Regions from separate parts of the Homo sapiens genome. Here regions 2, 3, 4 and 5 are each linked to region 1. The links are contacts of gene promoters, found by promoter capture Hi-C in blood cells and fetal thymus (Javierre and others, 2016). All regions are on one chromosome and are shown on one strand. Each heading gives the region's core, a stretch centred on a gene start or on the middle of the fragment in contact. The rest is flanking DNA. Distances are from core to core; before and after follow the strand shown.

Evidence for each region. The method cuts DNA at HindIII sites, captures the fragments that hold promoters and counts their contacts. A CHiCAGO score of 5 or more calls a contact.
Region 2: a contact is called between a fragment that was not itself captured here and the fragment with the promoter of CEP120 in region 1, in 8 of 17 cell types (total CD4 T cells, activated CD4 T cells, total CD8 T cells and 5 more). The highest score is 12.8, in total CD4 T cells.
Region 3: a contact is called between a fragment that was not itself captured here and the fragment with the promoter of CEP120 in region 1, in 8 of 17 cell types (naive CD8 T cells, total CD8 T cells, activated CD4 T cells and 5 more). The highest score is 11.4, in naive CD8 T cells.
Region 4: a fragment that was not itself captured here is called in contact with the fragment with the promoter of CEP120 in region 1 in 5 of 17 cell types (total CD8 T cells, activated CD4 T cells, non-activated CD4 T cells and 2 more); the score reaches 8.9 in total CD8 T cells.
Region 5: a contact is called between a fragment that was not itself captured here and the fragment with the promoter of CEP120 in region 1, in 8 of 17 cell types (total CD4 T cells, naive CD4 T cells, total CD8 T cells and 5 more). The highest score is 10.2, in total CD4 T cells.

What each region holds. Positions count from the first base shown.
Region 1 is chr5:123,421,965-123,424,664 of GRCh38, reverse strand. CEP120 (centrosomal protein 120) reads left to right here and starts at 1,262. Exons shown (of 20, transcript NM_001375405.1): 1 at 1,262-1,715. The coding sequence starts at 1,667. RefSeq lists a silencer at 1,562-1,721 and an enhancer at 1,051-1,996. The HindIII fragment of the contact is 3,797 bases long and covers 1-1,769 here.
Region 2 is chr5:123,591,623-123,594,322 of GRCh38, reverse strand. All of the region lies in intron 10 of CSNK1G3 (casein kinase 1 gamma 3), which reads right to left. Among named protein-coding and RNA genes, the nearest start is that of CSNK1G3, 81 kb to the right of the region's middle. The HindIII fragment of the contact is 1,802 bases long and covers 532-2,333 here.
Region 3 is chr5:123,574,385-123,577,084 of GRCh38, reverse strand. CSNK1G3 (casein kinase 1 gamma 3) reads right to left here. Exons shown (of 14, transcript NM_001364140.2): 6 at 1,122-1,356. Among named protein-coding and RNA genes, the nearest start is that of CSNK1G3, 64 kb to the right of the region's middle. The HindIII fragment of the contact is 2,552 bases long and covers 136-2,687 here.
Region 4 is chr5:123,618,229-123,620,928 of GRCh38, reverse strand. No RefSeq gene overlaps it. Among named protein-coding and RNA genes, the nearest start is that of CSNK1G3, 110 kb to the right of the region's middle. The HindIII fragment of the contact is 3,805 bases long and covers 1-2,700 here.
Region 5 is chr5:123,553,444-123,556,143 of GRCh38, reverse strand. The region is part of intron 3 of CSNK1G3 (casein kinase 1 gamma 3); the gene reads right to left. Among named protein-coding and RNA genes, the nearest start is that of CSNK1G3, 43 kb to the right of the region's middle. The HindIII fragment of the contact is 8,472 bases long and covers 1-2,700 here.

The sequences.
Region 1 (2,700 bases), core at 13-2,512:
AAAATAATGCATTGTTCAATGATGAATCCAAAGTAGATCATTACTTTGATTTTACATTGAATAGTGCTTCATTTTAAGAATGCCTGTGATAGGACCTGAAAGGGCCTTAGAAGTAATTAGTCCAATCTCTACATATTCCTCCTTTTCTTTTGGGCAGAAAGCAAAGAAGGAAGAATAAAGAAGAGGAAGAAGAAAACAATAGTGATATTATATTATTTGCTCTCAAAATAACTTCTAAATTTCCAAAACAAGGAAGCAATAGAAGAAAAAGAAAACAGCGAGATATTATATTTGCTCTCAAAACAACTTCTCAATTTACAAAACCAGAAAGTAATAGGAGAAGCCGCACTTATGTCCACTACCTAGTGCTATCTCTGCAGCTTTATTTTATTATGATTTACTTTTGTTTTCCGAAGCAGAATTTTTCCCAAACTTAATAGTGTCCACGATCGCTCCAACCAATTCGGTTATTTAAGTTTCAAGCTAGATAACCTCCAAAAGAACTTTGCCTTTGACTTGAATACATGCTTCTTGCAATTTGAGTAGTGTTTAGGAGGCCGTTCCCTTTACAAGTCTTGAACCGTTTCTTAAATCTGAATTTGGGAGACGTTAAGGGGAAAGGGTCGGCAGACAGCACCTCAATGCCTTGTTTATTTTTGGTTTTGAGTTTGCTAATAACTTTGTCATCGGGGGTGGAAGAACCTTTATATTTCATTGCCCACGTGACAGTGTTTTTGTTTTAGGGGTAATTTCTAAGGGACAGGAAATTCTCGGGGAGTTTACGTCAGCTTTAACAAGTACAGTAATTACCGTATTGAAGCTACTTGTTTTCAAAGGTCGGAAATTTGAGGTGCCGCGTGAGCACGATTTAGGGACTTTAGAGTTTAGATTTAAGTCATTATTTTTTTGTGATTTAATTTTTTAAGCAGTGTTGACACTGGGTACGTCAACTAAGCTAGGTTTTTTTGTTTTTTTAATCCCCACTAATATAACTCTCAGGTTGTGGCTGAAGCATAAAGCAGGTAATACGCTACACTCACGCTCCTTAAAGGCTACGCAGCTTCAGGAAGCGTTTACAGCAGTAGTGCGCTTGCGCAGCTGGTCCCACACCAAGTCGCCCGCCTCTCCTCGTCCGGCTAGCAGAGGGCGCTGTGAGGTAATGAAGGCGTCCTCCTTAGGGCTCTGGAACAGAGCGTAAAAGGGCGGGAGGCGAAGCTCGCTGACGGGCGTTCTAGCCTTGACTGCTCTGTCTCTATCACCCGTTGTCCTCCAACCTCCCCTGGGCACTGGGCCTGCGGGCCTGGTTGCTAGGCGGAAGCTGGGCGCGGCGGCGGCCGCTGCGGCCGCCCGGGCGTTTGAAAAGCGGCTACGCAGGCGGCAAAAGGTCCTCGGGTGGCGGGCTTGTCTCTGCTTGCAGACTGGCAGGGCTGCAGCGTGGCTTTTTCCTTGAGTCGGGGCACAGTTAGGATCTGGGCTGGCGGCCCGAGGCAGAGGAGCCGGGCGCGCTGCAGCAGACGGCGGTGGGACCTGGCTGCGGAGCGGGGTCCGGGCATCAGGGACCGGGGGCGGGCAGTGGGGGTCCCGCCGGGGGTCCCGGATTACCCGCGACTCAACTGGACCTCACTTCCCCCCAGCCGCCTTCGCCCCCGGACCGCTCACCGCAACCATGGTCTCCAAATCCGACCAATTGCTCATCGTCGTGTCCATCCTAGAAGGTGAGCAGCCTGAGGCTTGCTTTTGCAACTGCTGCCTCCCGAGTTTTAAAAGCTTAGTGTGGGACCGAGGCCTTGTTAACCTTAAGAACCCTGTCATCTGTGCTTTTGTGGTCCCCACAGACTTGTTCAAAGTTGTACGTAGTGAGGTCTGTTAGGCAATTGATTTAAAAATCTCTCCAGGGATATGAGCGCTATTAGGGATAAGTGATATTTAGCGTGACTAGCCGTAGCCCCAGAGAATCTAGAGAAAACGATTTTCATCCAAAGCAGCACGTCGATGGCTTTTATATATGAGCTGAACGTGGTCCTGAGAAGCGCGTTCTGATCAGCGGTTCCCAATAATAGCACTTGTAAGAGCTTTGACTTGAATACAGGCTTCCTGCGATTCCAGAAGTGTTCCGGAGGCAATTCCCTTTACACGTCTTGCTGGAGGACTCAGGGGACTACAGTTCTTAAGAGGGTGTATTATACATTCCTTAAAAGGTGTGTTTTGGATGAATGACATTGGTTTATTGGGACTCATTGAGTGTCAGACACTGTGCTGGGAATGTAAGAATGAAACAGTCCTGATTCTAAAAAGCTAAGGATGTAGCAAGGAGAGTGTGTCAGCAAATAATTCATCAGGATGTGGAAGACCCTAATGAATGACCACCTCTGTCTAAGGAAACTGCGGAAGTTTCACTAGAGGAGGTGGCATTTTTTGGGGTCCTACAGATGATTAGGAATTTGTCAGGTGAAAAAAGGAAGGGCATTCCAGGCAAAGAGAAGAGCAGGGAGCACTTAAAGTATGGAAAAGCAAGACACGTTTTGCCTTGCTTAATTAAATTCACTCAGTAAACATTGGTTAAATTCAGTGTGGTTGGAGAACAGATTTGCAAGAAAGTGGAGGGCATAGGAGATAACAGGTGAATTGAGGACACTTTACGAATAGTATGTTAAGAAGGAGTCATCTTGAGCCAGAGCAGAAGCCTGGCTGCATTTTTTC
Region 2 (2,700 bases), core at 183-2,682, 170 kb before region 1:
CCTTGGCAAATATGCATGGCAATAACAAACATCATAATCTACCAGTAAAATTAAGAGAAGTTTCTTAATAGGGGACAACTTCTGTTTCAGGAAAATGTGGACAACACTAATAAAAAGTAGGGAGAAGAATATACTATTTAAACTTTATTACATGTTTGGTTCTGAATTAGCTGCTTTATATATTACCATATTTTGAGGTAGATATTATCATCCACTTTTACTGATGAAGACAGTGAGACATTAACCACTTCCCCACAGTTACAGACCTACCAAGGAGTACAACAGGAATTCCAACTCAGAGCATAATGCTCTTCCAATAATACTACCTAGCTCCTTACGAAAATTAAATATATTCTAAAGCCTTCAGTACTCTTTTCTTTCTTTTTCAAACAAAGTCATGAAAATCTTGCCACAAAGTGCCAAGCATATTGGAGTATGGGGAGCCTCAAGCATATTGTTGGCCAGAACAACCTTAAGGGGAGAGATGTAAAATTCAAGTAGACACATGAATACATGTTCTGGCACTAAGCTTCCTAAATTGTACAATGCAAAATTACATACTCTGTGGCATAAAGTATGTCATCAAAACTATGACAGTTCTATAATGTCTTTTCGTTAAACCCTCCAAATCCATAACCAGAATTAAGCAGATTTGTAGCTTAAGTTGAAATCAAATCAGATGAAGTCAAGTCTAGACAAGATCAAAGAATAAAAATGATGCTAAAATTGAGACAAACATCTAGGGCAATGCGCAATATTTTGGGGTCATGGAACTCTCTAAGAATATAGTAAGAGCTACACGCCCTCTCCTGAAAATAAACAATTACATGTACCCAACAATTTCAGGATCCCCTCAACTTAACTCATTTATCTAGGGGCATTACAAAGGTTTAAGTCACGTGACATAATCTATCTTCCTCTGGGATTGTGAACTGTGGGTTTCTTGTAGAACTTAAGCTGCTTAGTGGTCTAGAGATATTTAAGAAGTTTTTTTTAAATATACAACTTTTCTATCATGATGAAAGTGTGTATATTCACATCCCAAATTCAATATATAAGCCTATCCTAAAGAATTGCCTAAATATTATATATATGTGTGTGTGTGTGTGTGTGTGTGTGTATATATACACACACACCCACCCTACATTTAGTGCAAGGACTGGACAAATGAAACATGGTTCCTACCCTCAGTGAGCTTATACTCTAGTTAGCAAGACATGTCTGAAAGATGTAGAAAACTAAAAGTCTAAAACATTAGATTTATAATTTAATTCAACAATAGAGGAATTTCACTTATTATAATACCTAACAGCTCAAGTGGAGAATTTCAAAGAATACCGTATTAATCTTCTTCCAAGTACATTCAAGGAATTAACTCTGGTTTATAAAACACAAACTAAGTCTCAACTTCTGAGCCATTTCTTTCTTTATACAGAATCTTTTCACAGCACTCCAGCTATCAACTAATTTTAATTTATATATGAAGTAATTTATGTATGAGATGCTTTATAGTACCAATTTTTCTAAGTCAAAAATTTAATATTAATCTTTTAAAACTGGCCATGCTATATATATATATATAGCATAATATTGTTAAACACTCCCTAAAATGTAGCATTTTATTTTGCTATGATTTTTAACAAGTGGTGTTCTTTCTTTTGATTGTCATCCTGTTTTAATCTTTAATCTTCACTTAAACTTTGATGGGATAAACAATATAAAAGTCAAAAAGGACGGCATACTATCCTTCTCCAAAATGGATTGTAAGAGAAAATTTCTAGACACTCCTTAACTCAGTGTGATAGTGAAATTTTTAAGTCAAAGATGTCTTCGATAAAACTTTTTTACCAAAAAAAAGAGAAAGAGAGAGAGAAAAATTAAAACATTGCCCAAAAATTTCAACAGCTTTCTATTCCTTTACCTGGCCAGGAAACATGAACTCGCTACTTGATCAACTTCTATGCCTTATCTCAGACTGACTCTCTACTCCCTCTCTAATCCATCTCTACCTACCTCCTGCTCCAAACAAATTTGAACCGCTTGCTATTCCTCAAATTCTCTATTTTTAAACTTCTGCTTCATATTTTATATTATTCACTCTCCCCAAAATGCCCTTATCTTCATTTCCCTTTAAAAACTCCATTCATTCTTTAGGTTCATGTCAAAAGCTACCTTTTCCATAAAATCTTCATAGAGCCCCACATATGATCTCCATGCTACTTTATTAGTGTTTCATGTAATATAGCTTATTCTCTTTTTAAATATAGCTATTTCTGTATTTATTGTAATAATAATAACAGTAACAGCAGACACAAGAGTTTTGATTCAAAGCTTACTGTATGCTCTAAATTAACATGCATTATTTCCATTTTATAGATGAGGAAACTGAGGCTTTGACAGATTAACTTATTTGCCCAGGGTCAAGCCATATCCATGTATGCCTGATTCTAAAGAATTGAGTGAACTCTTAGCTACAACACTGCTTTTAGACACTGGTGACAAAATCATTCTTAAAGGTTATACAGTCTTCTTTACTTCTGAATTTCTATAATGTGTAGAACAGTAGCTTTACAATAGCAGAAATTCAATAAATAATTTATTGAACTAAACTACAGTTAGAAAGTCCAAGTGTTATTACAATTCATTCTAATAGGGTATCCAAATACTTCCATTCTAACAGAATATCACATATTCCTAAAA
Region 3 (2,700 bases), core at 162-2,661, 150 kb before region 1:
ACGGGTGGCCAAATCTGGAACCCTTTGGCTATCAGAATAAATAATGATAATGCATTCAATACATTACATTAAATAAGATAAGAATTAATAAGTTCATATAGACATAAGTCAATAACTGGGGGAGAAGGTAAAGCTTCTGCTGACATTAGAATATCAACTGACAAATAAGGAAATGTAAATATTAGAAATAATGGAGTTAGAAAATCATCAATGGATGCTAAATCTAGAGGGCAAAAATCTGATGAGGAACAACATGTTTACATAATCCCAAAATCTAACTACAAGAAACTTTTCAGTAGAGAAATTTGGCAGATATCGTCCAAGCAAGTGATCCCAACATGATGCACTAAGAACACATCACTTCTGTGATATTTGTGCTCAAAATGCCTACCCAAATCTAGTCAAAAAGAAATAACAGACCCAAATTGGAGATATCCTATAAAATAGCCTGTGCTCCTAAAAAATATTAAGGTCATGAGCCATAACGAACGACTGAGGAACTGTTCCAGATGAAAATGATTTAAGGGATATGATAAATATGAATCTGGGTGAAGGAAGAATGCTATAAAAAATCCTGTGAAGTTGATATTGTTTTACTCTTTTTACCAATAAGAAACCCCTTAAAAAGGTTAAACTTGTCCGAAGTCATAGTTAGCATACAGGTAAGCCAGCTCTGCCCACCTCTAAGGTATATGCTGTTAGCATTATACTTATTAGGCTAGTTGCTATTTCTGTGGCTAGCCATATTGGAGAGCTATGGTCTCAATCCAAAATTTCCACATGTACTGAATTCAGTTAAAATTTGGTATTCTCTCATATTTTGTAAGAGAAATGATTAAATGCATCCCCATAACTGTATCAAAGTTGAACACTTCAAGTTATATAAATACAAAAAATACAGTGAATGTAAAGATAGCTGTCACTCATTTACTCTATAGTAACTTACTTTCAAAGAGTTTTATTAAAATATAAGTGAAAGTAAACTCTAGGTAGATGTGATAAATGAAAATTATAATAAAAGCTATTATAATCTGCAAAAACTGAACCATAACAAATAAAAACTCACAGTGTTAGCACAGCTGCTAAGTTCAAACTTCCATACTTACGAAAGGTACACATACCTTTTCCTAAATGTGTGTTTATGCTCATATATCTAGCTGTTCCTGTAAGGCTCTTGTGTTCTCTGTATGGTATGTGTTTCTTTGTCTCCGGATCAATATATTCCTTTGCCAAACCAAAATCTATAATGTGAATAACTTGCTGGGTTTTGTTTCCTGGTCGTCCTATTAAGAAGTTCTCAGGTTTTACATCTCTGTATATCAAGTTCTTTGAATGGACATATTCCATGCGAGAAATCTTGGTTTAAGAAAAAAAGAAGAGAAGTTTTATTTTGGGCTTTGACTAGCCTAAGCAAGTATGATAAAGGCAAGACAGAATGAAAACATACAAAAGAAATAAATCAGAAATTGTTTCAACCCTTTAAAAGTAAAATGATGTCAGCCTATCATTCTTCACATAGCAAATTGCAATTTAAAATCTTTGCCTTTACTGTTATGGTCACTGCTAAACGAGAGTATTTGAATTTTATGAATTCCTTTCATATCAGCAAGCCTGATTCAATGAACACTTTCAGAGGATGCTACTTCATAAAATCAAAAAGCCACATTGATATAAGACCTTGAACCCAAAAGTATAAGCAGACATATGCAAAACATTGCAATATAATCTTCCTTATCAGTTCAATAACCAAGCAACTTTTACAAGTATATTAAAGAAACTTAAGAGTCTAAACTATTAAGTAAAAACAACAGCACTATTCAGTATCTTTTTCTTTTTCATAACATGTTTCCTTTACTTTTTCCTAGGTATTAAACATTTAAAAATGATTAATCTTGAAGCTAGAAAGATCATAAAGCTAGAAAAGTCTGAAATCCAACTCTAATATTAATAATATAGCTCATTTTTGTTAATTATTTTACAGATTCTCAATGTTCATTGTACAAACTGTCATAAAATAGAGTATTACAAATAAGAAAATAAAACTGCTTCATTTAGTGATAATCATGGTTAACAATGCAATGTAAACATATGGCTACACAGGCCATTCTAGTTTGTTTAACAAACTTTGCAGCATATAATGTACAATATTCTATGTCTATATATTCTTAATTAATGATATGAGCATTTGCAAAGTCATGAAATATTCTTTGTTTTGTTTGGGGGCAGTTGGTTGGTTTTTTGATGTTTTGTGTGTGGGGGCAGGGACAGGGTCTCACTCTGCCACCCAGGATGGAACGCATAGCTCATTGCAGCTTCAACCTTTAACCTCCGGGCTCAAGCAATCCTCTTGCCTCAACCTCCTCAGCAGTTGGGACTACACAAGCACACCACCACACCTGGCTTATTTTTTTTTTTATTTTTATTTTTGTAGAGACAGAGTCACACTATGTTGCCCAGATTGATCTTGAACTCCTGGGCTCAAGTGATCCTCTAGCCTCAGACTCCCCAAAGTGCTGGGATTACAGGCACAAGCCACCACACCTAGCCTATAAAACAATCTTTAATATGCACTTTTTAACAGCTGCATATTTTCCTCTGGATATTAATTTATTCAACTAACCCTGTTATTTCTGCATATTTGGGTTGCTTCTCCTTTTTTTATTATAAACATCCTTTCATATAAAGCTTTAAGTACCTATG
Region 4 (2,700 bases), core at 28-2,527, 200 kb before region 1:
CACACTGCTTCAATATCTAAGTTCATACGTGAGCCAGACTTAGACCTCATTTGATTTCTAACTCCCATATGTACTGTGGTTGCATTTTCCATAATATTTTAATTCTTGGTGCTACTTCAAAATGAAATTTTCTTTCATAAAAGGAGGAAAGGTCATCTTTTGGTAAGCAGTTTCATGCAATTAGGTAAAAACTAATTTAATTCAAACATTCAAATCTTTCCAGTGTGGCACAGAACAAATGTTGGCAAACTATGGTCTGCAGGCCAAGTTCAGCCCACCTCCTATTTTTGCTCAGCTCACAAACTAAGAATGACACTTAACATTTCTAAATGGTTGAAAAAAATTAAGAGGGAATTTTATGACACATAAAAATTATATGAAATTCAAATTTTAGTGTCCATAAATAAAATTTTATTGGAACACAGCCATGTTCATTCATTTACACATTGACTATGGCTGCTTTCATGCTACAAAGGCAGAGGTGAATAATTGTGACAGTAACCATATGTGGTGCTTTCATTGTTTTGCACTGCTATTCAACATGCTACAAATCTCAGTGATGGCTATAAAACTCAACAGCATTTCAAGTGTCATACATATTGTCATACGGACATTTTATTATTTTTTATTACCAGTGCATATACATCATGTCAAAAAAAGTTTTAAAAAGTGGACTTTGAGTGTTGCACTTTTAAGGCACAGTGGAGTGTGAATTGTAGTAGAACTATATGGCAAAGCATTGTGTTTATTATGCAATGACACTTTCACTGTGCTCAAAAATATATTTCCAGACTAAGCACTCATCACAATATTCCCAACCCACAGGAAATCAACAGAACAATTAGAAAACTTAAAATGTAGTATCTTATCACAGCATAATCTACTAATTTAAAAAATTAGAATAAGGGTGTAACCAAAGTAACTTTCTGAGTGGCTCATTTGTTAGCCAAGCAAAGACAGCTATATACTGATGGTGAGTTAGAGTTAATTTAATTGTGTTTGATTGTAGCAACCAGAAAGTGGGCCCAAACAAAAACTTCTTTATGACTACTAGCTTTTCAGCAAGAATACTTGCTTGGAGACATGAGGACACTGTGGCAACACCAACAGTTAATTAAAAAACAAGGCAAATGATTTCAAGTAGCTTTGCTTGGCTTTTGGTGAGTCAACAAATGTTACCAATACTGCCCCGTTGTATACTTGAGAAGTCAATGCTGAGTTTGAAGTGACTCAAGAACTAGCCTTTATGAATAGTCTGCATACAATAACTACAGGAAAGAATATTTCAAAGAAGTCGAGAAAACACCAATTTAGTACAACCTGAAGTAGAATCTGCTAAGATGTGTGGCAATTCATGGTGGTAAAAATGTGTGAAGTGGCCAAAAAAAAAAAAAAAAAAAAGAAAAAAAACCCGCATAGCTGAATAAATTGCTCAATGGTTATATGGTGCATTATTCATCAGCAGGTATTTGTGGGAAATATTTGAATTGTCATCCAACTAGTAAAGTCAATGGTAAATTTTATTCACTTGTGATCTTAATCATCATTGGTTCCATTTAGTTTTGTTAGAAATAGAAGTTGAGTATTCTGACTTGCCCAATTACATAGCGGTTTGATGGCAGCAGTAAAGGTTTTTGGCTTTGTTTGTTAGACACAGGATCTCACTCTGTTGCCCAGGCTGGAGTGCAGCAGCATAATCATGGCTTGCTGCAGCCTCGACTCCTGGGCTCAGGACATCCTCCCACCTCAGCCTCCTGGGTAGCTGGGACTATGGATGCATGCCACCATGTCTCGCTAATTTTTTGTAGAAACGGGGTTTTGCCATGTTGCCCAGGTTGGAACGGTAGTTTTATTGTAATTTTTTGAGCTCAGAACCAAGACTGAATTCGTTATGGATGAGGAGAATCACCCTCAAACTATTTTCAAACACTGAATAGCTTTGGAAATTAGCTTTTGCTGCAAACTTAATAATGCTTTCTAATAAATTCAACCTACAATTATGAGGCAAAACAGCACTTACATGTGAAACATACTGTGACAAGGTCATTTTGATGGCAACAAATGTTGTTTAAATCACAAGTAATATCAAGCTGGCTTTATATATTTCCCATGCTGTCAAGATAAGAAACAAGATCTCCATTCCCGCACAAACTTGCAGTGAACGTATTTTCCAAGTTCTACTATAGTTCAAGCTGCATTACTGAACCTTAAGGCAACTGCAAAGGAAATTTTTCTATTTAATTATTCACTTAAATATACAATTGAGCATCCACCTAACCTTCAACAGGAAGTGATTAATATGCAATGTAATGACAGCTAAAAGGCAAATGGCAATAGCAGAATCTAATAGAATTCTATAAATACCTTCCAAATGATGAATATGATCAATTAAAATTACACAATCACAACTGATAACAGTACATGGATGTATCTATTTGAGTGAGAAGATGTTTTCAAAGATGAAATACAAAAAATCACATTACAGGCCAGCATTAACAAATGAATGCTTGCAATTAATTTTGAACCCCAATTTAGTGAGATATCCCCTCAAAATCACTCGATTCTTATCATTAGTAGCCCTGTATCACACAAAAAATTCAAGTATTAATATATTTTGAATTTTATCAATAAAATATATGTGAAAATTTTTCATTCTCATTAAATATATAAAAGCCTCAATTTTGCCTTTTGGCTCACAAA
Region 5 (2,700 bases), core at 162-2,661, 130 kb before region 1:
TCTTGAGAGGCAGGATAGTACAGTAGTTAAGAGCACAGACACTGAAACTAAATTGTACTAGGTTTGAATCCTAAATCCTCTATTTCTAGCTGTGTGACTTTCAGCAAGTTACTTAACTTTTCTGTACTTTCCAGTTCCCTCATCTGTAAAATTGGGTTAAAACTTAACCTTTCTTATATATAAAGTACTTAAAACAGTGCCTTCTATACATATAGCACTATATTACCTATAATTCTTCAGTTAACTACCTAGAAGTACATAACCTTAAGATGCAATAAAAAGATGTCCATGTACACAATCACAAATGAAATTAAATATATAACTTATTCAATCACTACTCCCCCTTAGGATAAAAATACTGACCCAAATCTGACTTAGTTGAGTCATTTCAACTAGATTCCAGTACTTAAGCAGTAAAATTTTAACACTATATAATAAAAGTCACCTTCCCCAGGATGACATTTTCATTATTCATGTACAACAAGATATAAGGATGGTAGCTGAGGTAATATTAACAAATTATCCTGAAACAAACTGTTGATCTGAACTAGGGTAATATTAGATAAATGTAAAAAATCTTTGTAAGAGATAATGGAGTGAAAGCAGTCACAGAAATCTGCTCTCTGAACTCAGGTTATCAAATAATGCCTTTATTTGTACCGAGCAAAGTATAAAAGCCAGATAACACTGAGGTATGCAGACATAAGATGTTCAAGTGATTACTTTTATGGCAGGTCTAAACAAAATCATGTTATCTGGCACAAACAGATATAACAGACACAAATGAAAAAACATATAAGGAAATCATGAACTATCATTCAACAATGTATGTGAAAAGTTTTCTGTCCTTCCGATATTTTGGATGAACTTGAGGTGAACGTGACTAGATACCACTCTACAACCTCAAAATACTAGAGACATAGATCCAAAAATATTCCTAGTTCCCCCAAAGAACAATGTATAACCATAATTATTACATGTAATGCTGATCATTGTGCTTTAAAGAAAGACAAAACAGAGAGGAGGAAGAATGTTTCCCCCTAAAAAGGGGAGAAAACTAGTTAAGAGGACAGAGATACAGCACAAAAATAAACTTAAAAAAGTGATATATGTGTATGTATATAAGAAGGCTGAAAGATGACATAATAAACGTTTAGTAAGGCATCAATGGTATGAACAAGTTCCAAATCTATAAATAACAGGACCTAAGGATCACCACTTAATGAATGAAACAGACAAGGAAAGCTCAGCCTAGAGCAGGGGTTTCTGCTTTGACACGATGGTTTATCTGCCTTAATATATCAGATAACTATCATTCACATACAAAGCATGCTCCCATGAGTAGAGCTGCCCACTACAGGCTGTTGTATCAATAGCACAGACTGTAAACACTGCCACACTTTTATCCTTGCACACCACAAAGATTGTTGTAGGTTCAGGACCACTGGCCTACAACATGAGAAAAGGAAGAATTTCAAAGAAATGAAAGTCAGCAATGCCTGTTCAAACAACGTCCAGGCTGGGCACAGTGGCTCACGCCTGTAATCCCAGCACTTTGGGAGGCCGAGGCAGGCGGATCCCACAGTAGGCCTCCCCGCTGTGATTAATATTCACCAACCTCTTTCTGATTTCATGCTCATGAGGGGACCTTGAAATTTTAACTTGGCTTTCTATGTACATCGGCCCATAGAAAGAAACTTGGGCTTTCTAGACCTGTAAAATACCTCATTATTAGTTAGAAATTCACTCTTTCCTGAATCTGAGAGCTTGATAGTGTGAACTGATTACTGTGAATCCACCTCTAAGAAACGCTGACAACTGGTGAGATAACCTAATCACGTTTTGTTTCATAAGCCAAGGACCAGATCTTAATACCAAGACGGACTCATCTAGGTAAAATCCAGTCTAAAGCCACATGTCAGCCAACCAATCTCTCTTCATGGCACTGCAACCCTACTCCACATCTTTATTTCAAGTGAAAATAAACATTTGTTACACTAAAACTTGGTCTATATTCAAAAGATACTTAAAATTAAATAGTGGAGTTTTTCTATTTCCTCCCATTTGCCTCTTCTCCTAATAGTCTCTCTTTTATATATTCATTTCATATTACCCTAATAACAGAGGTTATATTGACAGAGACAAGGTTGAAAAAGGCAGAGAAAACCAAGCCATGCTAAACCTCATACACATACATATATGTGTATGTATATAAGAAGGCTGAAAGATGACATGATAAATGTTTAGTAAGGCATCAATGGTATGAAAAAGTTCCAAATCTATAAACAATAGGACCTAAGGATCACCACTTAATGAATGAAACAGGGAAACCTGGCTGCAAACCAGACAGAAAAGTTGTACCAGGAAAAGTATGTCTTACAAAAATAATTCCTAGATCCCAATTTTTCCAAAGAGATCGCTCTGCTCTGCAGCTGTCATACTGGGCACATTGAAAACTTCAGAATAATTCCACGGGAGTTTGCTTTCCCTGTTATCTATCACCTACCACATCAAGCATTTCTGCATCCCTCAAAGTCAAGCAATAGCCAGCTTTGCCATATATATGAAGTAACAATTTAAAAAGAAATTTCAGAAGCTACCTGGAAGTATGTTTTCAAAGAATATAATCCTGAATACTAAGAACACTTTTGTTTTACCAAAATGTTTGAATCAGAAGGCAAAATCTTGTTAATTTTTATC